2 separate regions of the Homo sapiens genome follow, and region 2 is linked to region 1. Evidence: promoter capture Hi-C in 16 types of primary human blood cells and fetal thymus (Javierre and others, 2016). All regions are on one chromosome and are shown on one strand. Each heading gives the region's core, a stretch centred on a gene start or on the middle of the fragment in contact. The rest is flanking DNA. Distances are from core to core; before and after follow the strand shown. Region 1 holds the start of KRT27 (keratin 27). Region 2 has its middle 8.4 kb from the start of KRT16.

The links. Contacts are between HindIII fragments. The CHiCAGO score rates a contact against its expected background, and 5 or more counts as called.
Region 2: a contact is called between a fragment that was not itself captured here and the fragment with the promoter of KRT27 in region 1, in 1 of 17 cell types (monocytes). The highest score is 5.9, in monocytes.

Annotation. Positions count from the first base shown.
Region 1 is chr17:40,781,011-40,787,340 of GRCh38, reverse strand. It overlaps KRT27 (keratin 27), which reads left to right and starts at 4,791. Exons shown (of 8, transcript NM_181537.4): 1 at 4,791-5,291; 2 at 6,071-6,153. The coding sequence starts at 4,848. The HindIII fragment of the contact is 4,282 bases long and covers 2,522-6,330 here.
Region 2 is chr17:41,600,955-41,607,715 of GRCh38, reverse strand. No RefSeq gene overlaps it. Among named protein-coding and RNA genes, the nearest start is that of KRT16, 8.4 kb to the left of the region's middle. The HindIII fragment of the contact is 9,356 bases long and covers 741-6,761 here.

The sequences.
Region 1 (6,330 bases), core at 3,542-6,041:
AGTGCTCACTTTCAGAATCTCCTGTCCTCCTATGCAACATTGGCTGTTTTTTAAGCCTGCTACCCAGCTGTCATGTGGGAACACTCACTCAGTGCGCTCACATTGGAACTCCATTTCCAGGAACCTAAGTTTTCCTTTTTCATGTTTTTCTCTCTAGTGGCTTCCTGACAAAATGTGCAAAAGAGATAATTTTTTTGAGACCTTTCATGTCGGAAAAGATTTTTATTCCACCCTCACTTGTGGTTGTTAAAGTAGAGAATTTTGGTTCTCTACATAAGTCACAATTAGAAAAAAACTTAGAAATGAGGTGACAAACCTTAGGAAAGGATTAGAAATAAAAGGTTGGATATCATTTTGCGTTCACTTTTTTTTTTTTTTTAAGAGACAGCATCTCGCTCTGTCAACCAGGCTGGAGTACAGTGGTGTGATCACAGCTCACTGCAACCTCCGCCTCATGGGTTCGAGCAATTCTCTTGCCTCAGCCTCCCAAATAGCTGGGATTACAGGCACATACCACCATGGCCCAGCTAATTTTTGTATTTTTAGTAGAGACGGGGTTTCACCATGTTGGCCAGGCTGGTCTTGAACTCCTGATCTCAAGTGATCCACCTCCCTCGGCCTCCCAGAGTGCTGGGATTACAGGCGTGAGCCACTGCGCCTGGCCTGGGTTCGTATTTTGAAAGCATTCTTCACTAGAATGATGGCTTTCCTAAAATTGAATATGTGTTGGTTTTGCTCCTGACATTTTAAGTGTTTGTTTGTCGCCCCCGCCCCCAGCCATGGTTCTCTGAAAGATCCTGTGGATGTGCCTCACTGTGGATGTTTTTCATTTATCATTCATGGTTCTTGGTGGTCTCTTTGAATTTAGAAGCTCAGTTGTTTAGTTCTGAGTAGTATTTCAGAAAATATGTTTATAAAATAATTTCTTCATGATTTCTCCCTTCTCTCTTTCCAGAAGACCTACTTGATGTTGTTCTTCTTTGACCAAGTCTCTCATTTTCTTTTTCTTTTTTTTTTTTTTTTTTTTTTTTTTTTTTTTTCTGAGATGGAGTGTTACTCTGTCGCCCAGGCTGGGGTGCAGTGGCGCGATCTCGGCTCACTGCAAGCTCCGCCTCCCGGGTTCACGCCATTCTCCTACCTCAGCCGCTGGAACTACAGGCGCCCGCCACCACCGCCGGCTAATATTTTTGTATTTTTAGTAGAGACAGGGTTTCACCGTGTTAGCCAGGATGGTCTCGATCTCCTGACCTCGTGATCCGCCCACCTCGGCCTCCCAAAGTGCTGGGATTACAGGAGTGAGCCACCGCGCCCGGCCCAAGTCTCTCATTTTCTAATATTTTCTTTTATCTGTAAACAAGTTCTCTGAGAAGGAAATTCAAGGACAGAGACTTCATTCCAGCAAACAGCTAGCAAGCTGGTGAGACACAGCCTTTGGTGTAAAATGAAAATGTGTTCCAGAGAACAAAGGAAGGGAATTTGTCTTTTAGAGAAAGTTCCCACCCAGGTTCCCACTTAGGTCTGCTTATGCAAAATGCAGGATTGAAATTTACTTAGTTCTGGTTGGTTGATGTTTGCTTAGTTAGCTCTTATTAGTCAGGGCATGCAGACTTCTGATTGATCCATGTAGGTTACAGCCTATTGTTTGGTTCAGGTGGCATAAACTGGAAGCTATGAAAGTCCCAAAGTTAAGCAGATGTGCACATTTTCTGGGAACTCAGAGTAAATATGTGACCTGTAGTCAGCAAATGGTTGCTTGGTTTTAATTTGAATTTAGGCCCAGTTAGCTGCTCAGGACTCATCTTAAGAGGCTGGTTCTTTACGCCAGGCACGGTGGCTCACACCTGTAATCCCAGCACTTTGGGAGGCCGAGGCTGGCGGATCTCTTGAGGTCAGGCATTCGAGACCAATCTGGCCAACATGGTGAAACCCCATCTCTGCTAAAAATACAAAAATTAGCCAGGCATGGTGGCATGTGCTTGTAATCCCAGCTACTTGGGAGGCTGAGGCAGGAGAATTACCTGAACCTGGGAGGTGGAGGTTGCAGTGAGCCAAGATCGCGCCAGTGCACTCGAGCCTGGGTGACAGAGCAAGACTCAGTCTCAAAAAAAAAAACAGAGAGAGAGAGAGACTGGCTCTTTCAAGGCTCACATATTTATCTTTTCATCTTTTTGTTCTAATTTTGGGGAGTTTTTTTTTAAATTTATTTTCCAATTCATCTATTGAAGTTTTCTTTTGGGACTTAGTTTTTAATTCTAAGAGGTCTTTTATGTGCTTCCTGTTCAATTTTAATGATGTTCTATCCATGTTTTAAATATACAGTATTTTTGTTACTTCTGAAAGTAATAATTATAGGTAGTTTCTTTTTTAAAGTTTTCTTCAACGTTCTTCATTATCTCTGTTTCCCCTGAGTGCTATTTTTTGTTTGTTTGAGTCTCTGTCTTTCTTGTTGGAGTGTTTTTCAATGTATCGTGATATTTTAAATTATGTTCGTTTTGAGTAAGACCTTAAACATTTGAAAGCTTTGTGTGAAGTGTCTGTGTTTCCTTCCAGAGTGGTTGTACAGTGAGCTCCCTTTTTGTGGAGAACACTCAAACAATTCTATCTGGAGGTATTTTCTCTGAGATTCTTCAGCTTCCTCAGAGAGACCCAACAATTCGGGCTGGCTACATAATTTACAAGGCCCAGTGCAAAATGAAAATGTGAGGTCTCCTGTTGAAAAGTCAGAAAAAAAGTTCAGTTAGAAATATTAAAATAGGTCCAGCGCGGTGGCTCAAGTCTATAATCCCAACACTTTGGGAGACCAAGGTGGGTGGTCTGAGGTCAGGAGTTTGAGACCAGCCTGGCCAACATGGTGAAACCCCGTCTTTACTAAAAATACAAAAATTAGCCGGGCATGGTGGCAGGCACCTGTAATCCCACCTACTTGGGAGGCTGAGGCAGGAGAATCACTTGAACTCGGGAGGCAGAGGTTGCAGTGAGCCGAGATGGCACCACTGCACTCCAGCCTGGGCGACAGAGCGAGACTCCATCTCAAAAAAAAAAAAAAAGAAATAGTAAAATATAAATCTTTTTCTTCTAAAAAGTCTTATTATTTATAACATGTAATGAGGTAACGGGTACACATATATAACAGCATAAACTACAAACAGCAAAGAAATAATGTTTTGGTGTCCTAATTTTATGTAAAACAATAAACCATAATACTTTAATAATGTATTAAATTGATTGACAAATCTTTCTGGCTTTTTTTCCGCAAGCTCATTTATTAAGTCATGAAAATTTATATTTTTGCCAACTTCATTTTCAATCTAGGTAATTGAAAGTGATGTCAATCATTCTTGGCAAATGCAAGATCTCAAATGATTTGTTATAATTTTTAGTCTGAAGAAGAAAACCAGGTGGAAAGAATAACATGAACAAAGGCAAAGAGATGGGAAAGAGGGAAGTAGTAAAACAGAACGGACAAGTCAGTGCGGGAAAATTTACATTAAGACAGTGAGGTGGCTCCTGCCTATAATCCCAGCACTTTGGGAGGCCAAGGTGGGAGGATCTGTCGAGCCCAGGCATTCAAGACCAGCCTGGACAACATGGCAAACCCCAACTCTACAAAAAAATACACAGATTAGCCAGGCATAGTGGCGTGTGCCTGTAGTCCCAGATATTTGGTAGGCTGAGGTGGGAGGATCACTTGAGCCTGGGAGGTTGAGGCTGCAGTGAGCTGTGATCATGTCACTGCACTCTGGCCTGGGTGACAAAACGAGACCCTGTCAAAAAAAAAAAAAAAAGAGAGAGAGTCGTAAATACCAAGCACAAAACTATAAGAAATGACAAAGGTAGGGCACAGGAGCTATAAGTGGAAGAGAAAAGGGGAGCAACATGAGATGTAGAAAATTTCTTAGAAAGCAACTGTCTGAAACTCGATCAGACTCATCAGACTGAGGTTGTCAGTATTGAATGTAACCAAGAGGGTATAGGGGAAAAAATAAAAGAAATGATGATTAGAGATGTGCAGTGATGTCTGAGAGGTTAATTTCAGTAAAATAGTGGGACCACAATTCAGAAATAAGAGGTGAAAAGTACAAGAAGCAATGCAGAAAAGTGCTATGGAAATGGACAGCCAATAGAAGGAATGCAGAAATATGAGCAATCTACAGACAGAAAGTGAATATAGAGACCACAGTCTAGACCCTTCACTTTACAGATGTGGAAACTGAGGCCCGAGGAGGTGACCAATTCCTTTACTTAACCTGGTTAGCAATGGAACTTAGACAGAAAACCAGTACAGATGAAATGGTAATTCAGGAAGGATAAGGATCAAAGGAACACTTTCTGTCTCCAAAGAAGATTCCCTTTAATGCCTCAGTTTTCCTTTAGGACCTCCCCTCCTTCTTCTGATACTATGATACTTCATTGCTGAAGAAAATGCAATGCTGATTTGAGCAAGGGAAAGAGAAATCTGTCTATCATACTTTTTTATTCTTATAGGTATTATGCATTCCTGAAGCCTGGAAGACAGGAAGAGTTACTCATACTAAATTTGAAATGCATCACTATAATAATCCTGATAATACTCCACCCTGTCCAACTCCAGAGATAACAAATAACCCCACAATAACTATCCACCTACAGAAATGGACACAGTATGGTAAAGCCATTCATTAAAAAAAAAAAAAAATCACCCCATTATGGATAATTCACAATGAGCTGGCAAACATCATTTGGCTATGAGCAAAGCTCATCAAGAAACACCCTAATAATGTGTATATAAAGGCAAACCAAGCTGTTTGAGTAGGCCGTTCACCATCAGAGCATCACCGCAGAAACAAAGGCTCCAGCCTCCGGACACCATGTCTGTGCGCTTTTCTTCTACCTCCAGGAGACTTGGCTCTTGCGGGGGCACTGGCTCTGTGAGGCTCTCTAGTGGGGGAGCAGGCTTTGGGGCTGGAAACACATGCGGTGTGCCAGGCATTGGAAGTGGCTTCTCTTGTGCTTTTGGGGGCAGCTCATCTGCAGGAGGCTATGGCGGAGGTCTGGGCGGGGGAAGTGCTTCCTGTGCTGCCTTCACAGGGAATGAGCACGGCCTCCTCTCTGGCAATGAGAAGGTGACCATGCAGAACCTCAACGACCGCTTGGCCTCCTACCTGGAGAATGTTCGAGCCCTAGAGGAGGCCAACGCTGACTTGGAGCAGAAGATCAAGGGGTGGTATGAGAAATTTGGACCTGGTTCTTGCCGTGGCCTTGATCATGATTACAGCAGATATTTCCCAATTATTGACGAACTTAAGAACCAGGTAAGAAACGCCATGGCGTGAGTGTTAGCACTCCTGAGAGTGTTTAGCCACTCACAGATGCACAAATGTATAAGCTATCACAATAACAGGGCTTTGCCCTCAGCTTCTAAATTTTAGGAGTTCATTTTCAATATTAAAAATAATTTCTAATAAATTCTAATATTTGAACATGGCACGTCCATCATGTAGTATTAGGTATATGCTTTTGGTAATATTAAAATATCAAAAGCTGTCCAGTGTCTCCAGTTATATATTTATAGGCTTTCCCATAGAAAGAGCTTTTTTTAATGCTTGGGGTGGGAAATACAAGAGACCATACCCAGCCAGGCACAGTGGTTCAGCCTGTAATCCCAGCACTTTGGGAGGCCAAGGCAGGTGGATCACTTGAGATTAGGGGTTCAAGACCAGCCTGGCCAACATGGTGAAACCCTGTTTCTACTAAAACTACAAAAGTTAGCCGAGCGTGGTGGCACATGCCTGTAATCCCAGCTACTTGGGAGGCTGAGGCAGGAGAATCACTTGAATCTGGGAGGTGGAGGTTGCAGTGAGCCAAGATCGTGCCACTGCACTCCAGCCTGGGCAACAGAGCGAGACTCGGTCTCAAAATAAAAGACAGAGAGAGAGACCATACTTAAATTACCCATCTTCAAAAGAATGGTCTGATTATTAGAGACAGATGCCAGAAATATTACTATAATTTCATGGGTAATTTTATTTCAAGGAACTTTGAAATGCATCTTAAATATTTCCTCAATCTTAACTAACTTTTCATTTGTCAGATAATTTCTGCAACTACCAGTAATGCCCATGTTGTCCTGCAAAATGATAATGCAAGACTAACAGCTGATGACTTCAGACTAAAGTAAGTAGAGCTGAAGATAAATGGGAAAAAAAAGTTGTCTAAGCATTTTTTCTCCTTTATTCTTCTAAGTTATTTGACGTTGTCTCAAGCCTTTGTTCTTGTTTATTCATGTATTTGTTTTAAACAAAATGCCTGTTAGAATGAGTAACTAGCTGAGCAACAAATTTTACTTGGGAA
Region 2 (6,761 bases), core at 4,169-6,668, 820 kb before region 1:
AATATCTTCTTCCCACCTTCTCAATATATTCATATTTTTGTTAGATAAATGTTTACATTATTAAGACTATTTAAATGTTATTCATAGTCAAACCATATATTATACTATGTTACATTTTATGCTATATTAAATTTCCTTGGAATAAATATCTCCTTTTCAATTTGCCTAAACTTTCTATGTATTGATCATTAATTTGTTTCCTGATTCACTGCTGGAAGTATAAATCTCCTCAGTATTTTAGAACCCTGGGTGTTCTATCAATTTCATCCTCATGAAGATGTGTCTCCTAGGGCCTTCTGTCCTGCTCTTGTCTGTTCTGGGTGCTGTCTGGGTCTTCTGCTCAGCTGTGATCCTGGAATCTCTCTTCACCATCATCCTGAAATTCCTTCTTTTTCCTGTGTTGCATTCCTTGTTTTCTGGATCCAATGTCTTCCTCCTTCCTGTTTTTATTTTTCCCTTTGTTTTAGTGAAGCACATCCTCAAGTAGTTTCCTGGAAAGGGAGTTATCGGGGTTAAATTTTTTGAGACCATTTGTGTCAAAAAGATCTTCAGTTTATCTTCACTCTTGACTGATAGTTTGGCTGGGTATAGAATTCTAGCTTGGAAATCATTTGCACTCAGCGTCTGAAGGTACAGTTTCACTGTTTCTTGGCTTCTGGTGTTGCTGTTGAGAAGTCTTATGCCACGTTGACTCGAGATCATTTCTTATTATCCTGTTCCCACTCTCCTCCCTAGAAGCTTTTCAGTTCTTCTCTTTCTCTCCAGCAGGCTGAAATACCATGTGTTGAATTGATGCAGCTGTAACTTCATCCACCGGCTGGACTCTAGCAGAAACTTCTAATGTGGGAGCTCATGTTGTTCAATTCTGGCAAATTTTCGTGTTTCATGATTTCCTCCCTCCATTTTCTCTCTTTCTGAAATGGCTCTTTTTCCTGGGTATTCTGTTTTATTTTCCATCTTGTCTTTTCTTTGTTGTTGTTGTTGCTGTTTTCTGAGAAATTCTTTAACTTTGACCTCTAACTCCATTATTCAGAGTTTTAAAAAATCTGCTGTATTTGGCCGGGCACAGCAACTCATGCCTGTAATCCCAGCAGTTTTGGAGGCCAAGGTGGTTGGATTGCTTGAGCCCAGGAGTTCGAGACCAGCCTGGGCAACATAGTGAGACCCTGTCTCTACAAAACATACAAAAATTAGCTGGATGTGGTGGCTTGTGCCTGTAGTCCCAGCTGCTAGGGAATCTGAGGTGGGCGGATCACTTGAGACTGGGAAGTCGAGGCTGCAGTGAGCTGAGATCACACCATCGCATTCTAGCCTGGGCAACAGAGTGAGATCCTGTCTTAAAAACAACAGCAGTCTTTTATATTTTTCATATCTCATAGCTCTGCATGTTTTTTCAACAGTCTCTTGTTCTTGTTTCAAGATGCAATAGTTTCTCTATCTCTTTGAGCCTATTAGTCCTGGCTCCAGCAATGCTTCTATTTCTGTCATCGGCTCAGTTTCCTCAGTTCCTTTCTTGCTGTTTGTCTTGCCTCCATCTTTCATGCCAGAGGCTTTTCTCAGATGTCTAGTGGTCCTTGGTAGTCGTTCATATTTAAGAGTAAGTCACTGAGAAACTAATTGGAATATGTGTATATGTGTGTGGATAGCATGGGAGCTTGCCACTGATAGGTCTCAGTATAGAGTAATCTGGTGGAGAATAAGCGTTTCAATGGGGAACAGTTATCTGTAGGACTTTTCTTGGGTAGGGTCTTCCCCAGAAGGAATACCTCTAATTTTCTGTCTGGATTGTAAAAGCTACCAGCTTTCTGGAAGCTGAGTGCGGGAAGGGGGCAGAGAAGGTCTCAGTCTCAGCTACTCTGTTACTAATTGATTATAGTTTATTGGCCCTTCTTGGTGTCTCAGGATTCAGAGTCCCTCTGGGGAAATTCTCCAGCATAAACATCTAGTTTCTCCTGGAGTAATCGTGGAGTGGTTGGGATCAGACAAGGAGGGGAGAGAGGAGCTACAGGGGCCTCTCTGCTTTTTTTTTTTTTCCGAGATGGTGTCTCGCTCTGTCCCCCAGGCTGGAGTGCAGTAGCACCATCTCGGCTCACTGCAAGCTCCGCCTCTCGGGTTCACACCATTCTCCTGCCTCAATCTCCTGAGTAGCTGGGACTACAGGTGCCCACCGCCACACCTGGCTAATTTTTTGTATTTTTAGTAGAGACGGGGTTTCACCGTGTTAGCCAGGATGGCCTCAATCTCCCGACCTCGTGATCCACCTGCCTCGGTCTCCCAAAGTGCTGGGATTATAGGCATGAGCCACCGTGCCCGGCCGCCTCTCTGCTTTTTATACAGATCTCTAGCTCACCCTCCCATTTCTAGTTCACTTGTTCCTCACTGTCAGAGGTACCTGGTGCCCCCTATTCCAGAGAGTTTCCAGAGTTCTTAAAAATTCAGAGTTAAAAAGTTCCAGAGTGTAAATATGCTTTGCCTCTTGGCTTCTCTCTGGGCAAGCGCTGGGCTTTATTTGTCTTTGTTTTCCAGATTCCAAAACTTGATTGCTATAATCTAGTTTCCTGATCTCTTTGACCCCATGGGTTTTATCCATTTATAGTAATTTTAGTAGTGTTTAGGAGGTGAAGATAAACTGCAAGTTTAACCTGAGTTTAATCTGAAGTCTCTGCTTTACATGACAAAACCATATTCATCTTTCAAGGCTGCTGAGCCTGATTCATTACTCTATAATGCACAATCATTGTTGGCATTATTGGTAGTTTAGCGAATGTGTTTCCCTTTTTCTGGTCACCCTGTCTCCCAAGCCCTAGGGTGAGCCTATGACTCAGAGCGAACCCCAAATCTCGATACCAAAGGTAACCACTGATAGTATTTTTACAAGTTTTTCTCTCTGTCTCTCTATATATACACTCATGCACCATATAACAACATGTTGTTTTTCAGTGATGGATGGTATATATATATATATATATATATATATATATATATATATACACACACATACACACGAGTGGTCCCATAAGATTATAATACTACATTTTTACTGTACTTTTTCTGTGTTTAGATAGGTTTAGATACACAAATACCAACCACTGAGTTACAATTGCCTATAGTATTCAGCACAGTAACCTGCTGTTCAAGTTTATAGCCTAGGAGCAATAGGCTATACCATCTAGCCTTGGTATGAAGTAGGTTATACCATGTAGGTCTTTGTAAGTACACTGTATGGTGTTCACACAATGACAAAATTATTTAATAATGCATTTCTCAGAATGCGTTCCTGTTGTAAAGTAATCCGTGACTGTGTACATATATATACACATTTATACATATATACATTTATGCATATATGTATAAATAAAATACATTTATGCATATATATTTATGTACTTATACATATATATGTATAAATGAAGTAAAAATGAAGTAAACATATCTTACCAACTATAATTACAACAACAATTACACTAAATGTCTATACCATTTTTCATTCTTTTTTTTTTTTTTTTGAGACAGAGTCTCACTGTGTCGCCCAGGCTGGATAGTGCAATGTCATGATCTTGGCTCACTGCAACCTCTGCTGCCCGAGTTCAAGCGATTCTCCTGCCTCAGCTCCCACAAATATTTTTGATTATTTCCTTAGGCTAGATTCCTAGATGTATACTAGATGAGAAGATACAGATGTTTTAAGATTCTCGATTTGAATGGCCAAATTGATTTAAAGAGAAATTGTGCCAATTTGCATATCTTGCCAGCAGGGAATGGGAGTGCCTATTTCAAAACATGCTCATCAACTGTGAGTATTATCTTTAAAAACCTCTTTGGTAAATTGATTCAGCTGATTCTTTTAAAGATGATGTTGTGGAAGGACCCTTACACAGAGACATAGTCCTGGCCTGGGTTACTAAACAACTCCTGGGCTGGCACACACTTTCATGAGTTGTTCATTAATGAGATGTCAGAACAGAGGATGTAGAATACCCTCCAACTGGGCATGCGGTGCTATTTTATTTTATTTTATTTATTTATTTATTTATTTTTTGAGACAAAGTCTCACTGTCACCCAGGCTGGAATGCAATGGTGCGATCTCAGCTCACTGCAACCTTTGTTTCCCAGGTTCAAGCAATTCTCATACCTCAGCCTCCTGAGTAGCTGGGACTACAGGTGTGTGCCACCACACTCAGCTAATTTTTTTTTTTTTTTTTTGTATTTTTAGTAGAGACAGGATTTCACCATGTTGGCCAGACTAGTCTCAAACTCCTGGCCTCAAGTGATCTGCCTGCCTTGGCCTCCCAGAGTGCTGGGATTACAGGCGTAAGCCACCATGCCCAGCCTGGGCATGGGTGCTATTTTAAAGAAGTTGTCTGTACCCGTATCTTCCGAGTGCCTAACCCCCAGGAGCAGATCCTTGGAAAGCTCATCACGAAAGGCCTCTACCTGACAGATGCAGAAATTCAGGTTTACAGTAGTTAAAGGAAAATTAAAAAAAAAACTTTCTTGGGGTCTCACAGTCACTTAGCAAAACTCCCGGAGAGCAGAAATCACTTATCTCTTCTTCATTGCTGTTATCTTGTAGAAACAAATCATGAGCCCCTTTTAAACAGAAGGACAATATTGTGCAGAAATATGAGTTTTCCCTTCAATAAGGGAACCAGAATTTCCATCTGGAAATGGCTTGCTGCCTGGATTTCTCAAACTATGATTCAAGCCCCAAATCAGACTGCCTTTTGCTCTTGCCTGGTCTTTCCCACTTCCTAAGATCCTGGCACCTGAGCTGAGAAGGTTGAGAACTCCCAGTGTTCCTTGAAATCTGTCTAATTTGAAGGTACCTTCAGATTCCTTATGCTTGACTTACTGTCAAAGTTCGGCAAATATTGTTTTAGATAATTGCATGAGGTGCAAAAACAATGACTAGAGTGAGAATTAATGGCAGCCCATAAAGTGCATCTGCTGTTGTAAATGAATGAGTGGTATGCTTGTAAAGCTCTGCTTTCTTTGGGTCCATTGTTTCTGAGAGCTCTAATAAGCTCAGTGTCCCTCCTAGTGTATGAGATAAGCAATTTCTTGTGCTTGTCTTTTCACTGCTGTAGCTTGTTGTTTAAGACCTTCTGTCTGCTCCCCGAAACATAAACAGTAATGAAACTTTTGTTTTGCTAGTTACCAACAGCCCCTGGATGGTACCCAGCCCATAAAGGACACTCAGTAAAGACTTGTGGAGTCAGGCCGTGGAGGTTTGGTTTAGAAGTCTCTGCTCTTTCAGGACTCCACAGAACTTGCTCAGAAGAATTTCTTGAGGGCAGGCTTCTCTGGGTTCCATGTGCTTCTCATTGTGTTGGCACAGGGAGGTCTCCATGGGTAGGTATTGACAAGCTGGCATGGATGTGAAAGCAAATATCTTCTTGAGCCCTGGAGGGATGGAGCCCCATCTACAGAACTGAGGCATGAGGCAGTGGAGCTCCTTATCTGGCCCCTCCTCTGATGTGCTGTCTGCATCCTGGAATCCCCAACAGTCCAAGACCCCCGAAGGGCTTTGAGCAGATCAAGGGGTGTTAAAGCAATAGTGGCAGCTATCCAGGAGACGCCATTTCTGACTTCACCCCTAGTTAACACACTGTTGATTGCAAGGGTCCCTCTTTCTCCTACCATGTTAGGATTGTTACACATAAAACTCATGCGTCGGCCTGGTGCTGTGGCTCACGCCTGTAATCCCAGCACTTTGGGAGGCCTAGGAGGGAGGATCACCTCAGGTCAGGTGTTTGAGAGCAGTCTGGCCAACATGGTGAAACTCCATCTCTACCAAAAAATACAAAAATTAGACAGGCGTGGTGGTGCGTGCCCATAGCCCCACTACTTGGGAGGCTGAGGTGGGAGAATCGCTTGAATCAAGGAGGTGGAGGTTGCAGTGAGCCGAGAGTGTGCCACTGCACTCTAGCCTGGGTGACAGAGTGAGACCCTGTCTCAAACAACAACAACAAAAAACAACAGAAAAAATCCCATACGTCTCTAGCTTTTATCTACCATATGAATAGTGTGACGAAACAAAAGGAAATATAGAAAATGAAAACACTCATCCATTGTTCTGTCACCAGACCTTTTATTCTACCAGGTTCTTTTCCAGCTTTGTTATATGTGATTATACAGCAAAGATGACTTTCAAATTATTTAAGGGACTTCACTTAATTTTAAATTAATAGAAATAACAGACCAGTATAAAAAGGCATATGTGCAAAGATATTTACTGCTGTTTATTTGTAGTGACAGAAGGTGGCAAACACATTTTTAAAAGTTGATAGTGGACAGGTGGAATAAATAATGGTCCACTGCTACCCTGGAGTATTAAGCAGCCATTATAGTCAATAAATTGGAGCTATTTATTGGATGGCAAGGAGGGATTCCTCCAGGGATTGGAGAGAGAGAAATGTGGAATGCAGAAATGTACATGTAGGATATTGATTTCACTTATGTGAAATAAACAGCCAACCCCTCATCCCTCATTTATGTAAATGCATGTGCATGTGTCTGTGAGATTATATAAGCACCAACAATATGAAAAGATACATACAGAGTTATGAACATAGATTACTGTGGGGGTGGGGTTGAAGGCTGATGTGGGTGGCAGTGGTTGAGGGGAAAAGGGGAGCCAAGAAAAACAGGAAAGGAACAAAAAGAGTGCACACACATTTTAATACATGTGCATAAAATTGTGTGTGTGTGTGTATATGAATAAAGAAACTAAACAACAATTTAAGAACCAAAGAATCAA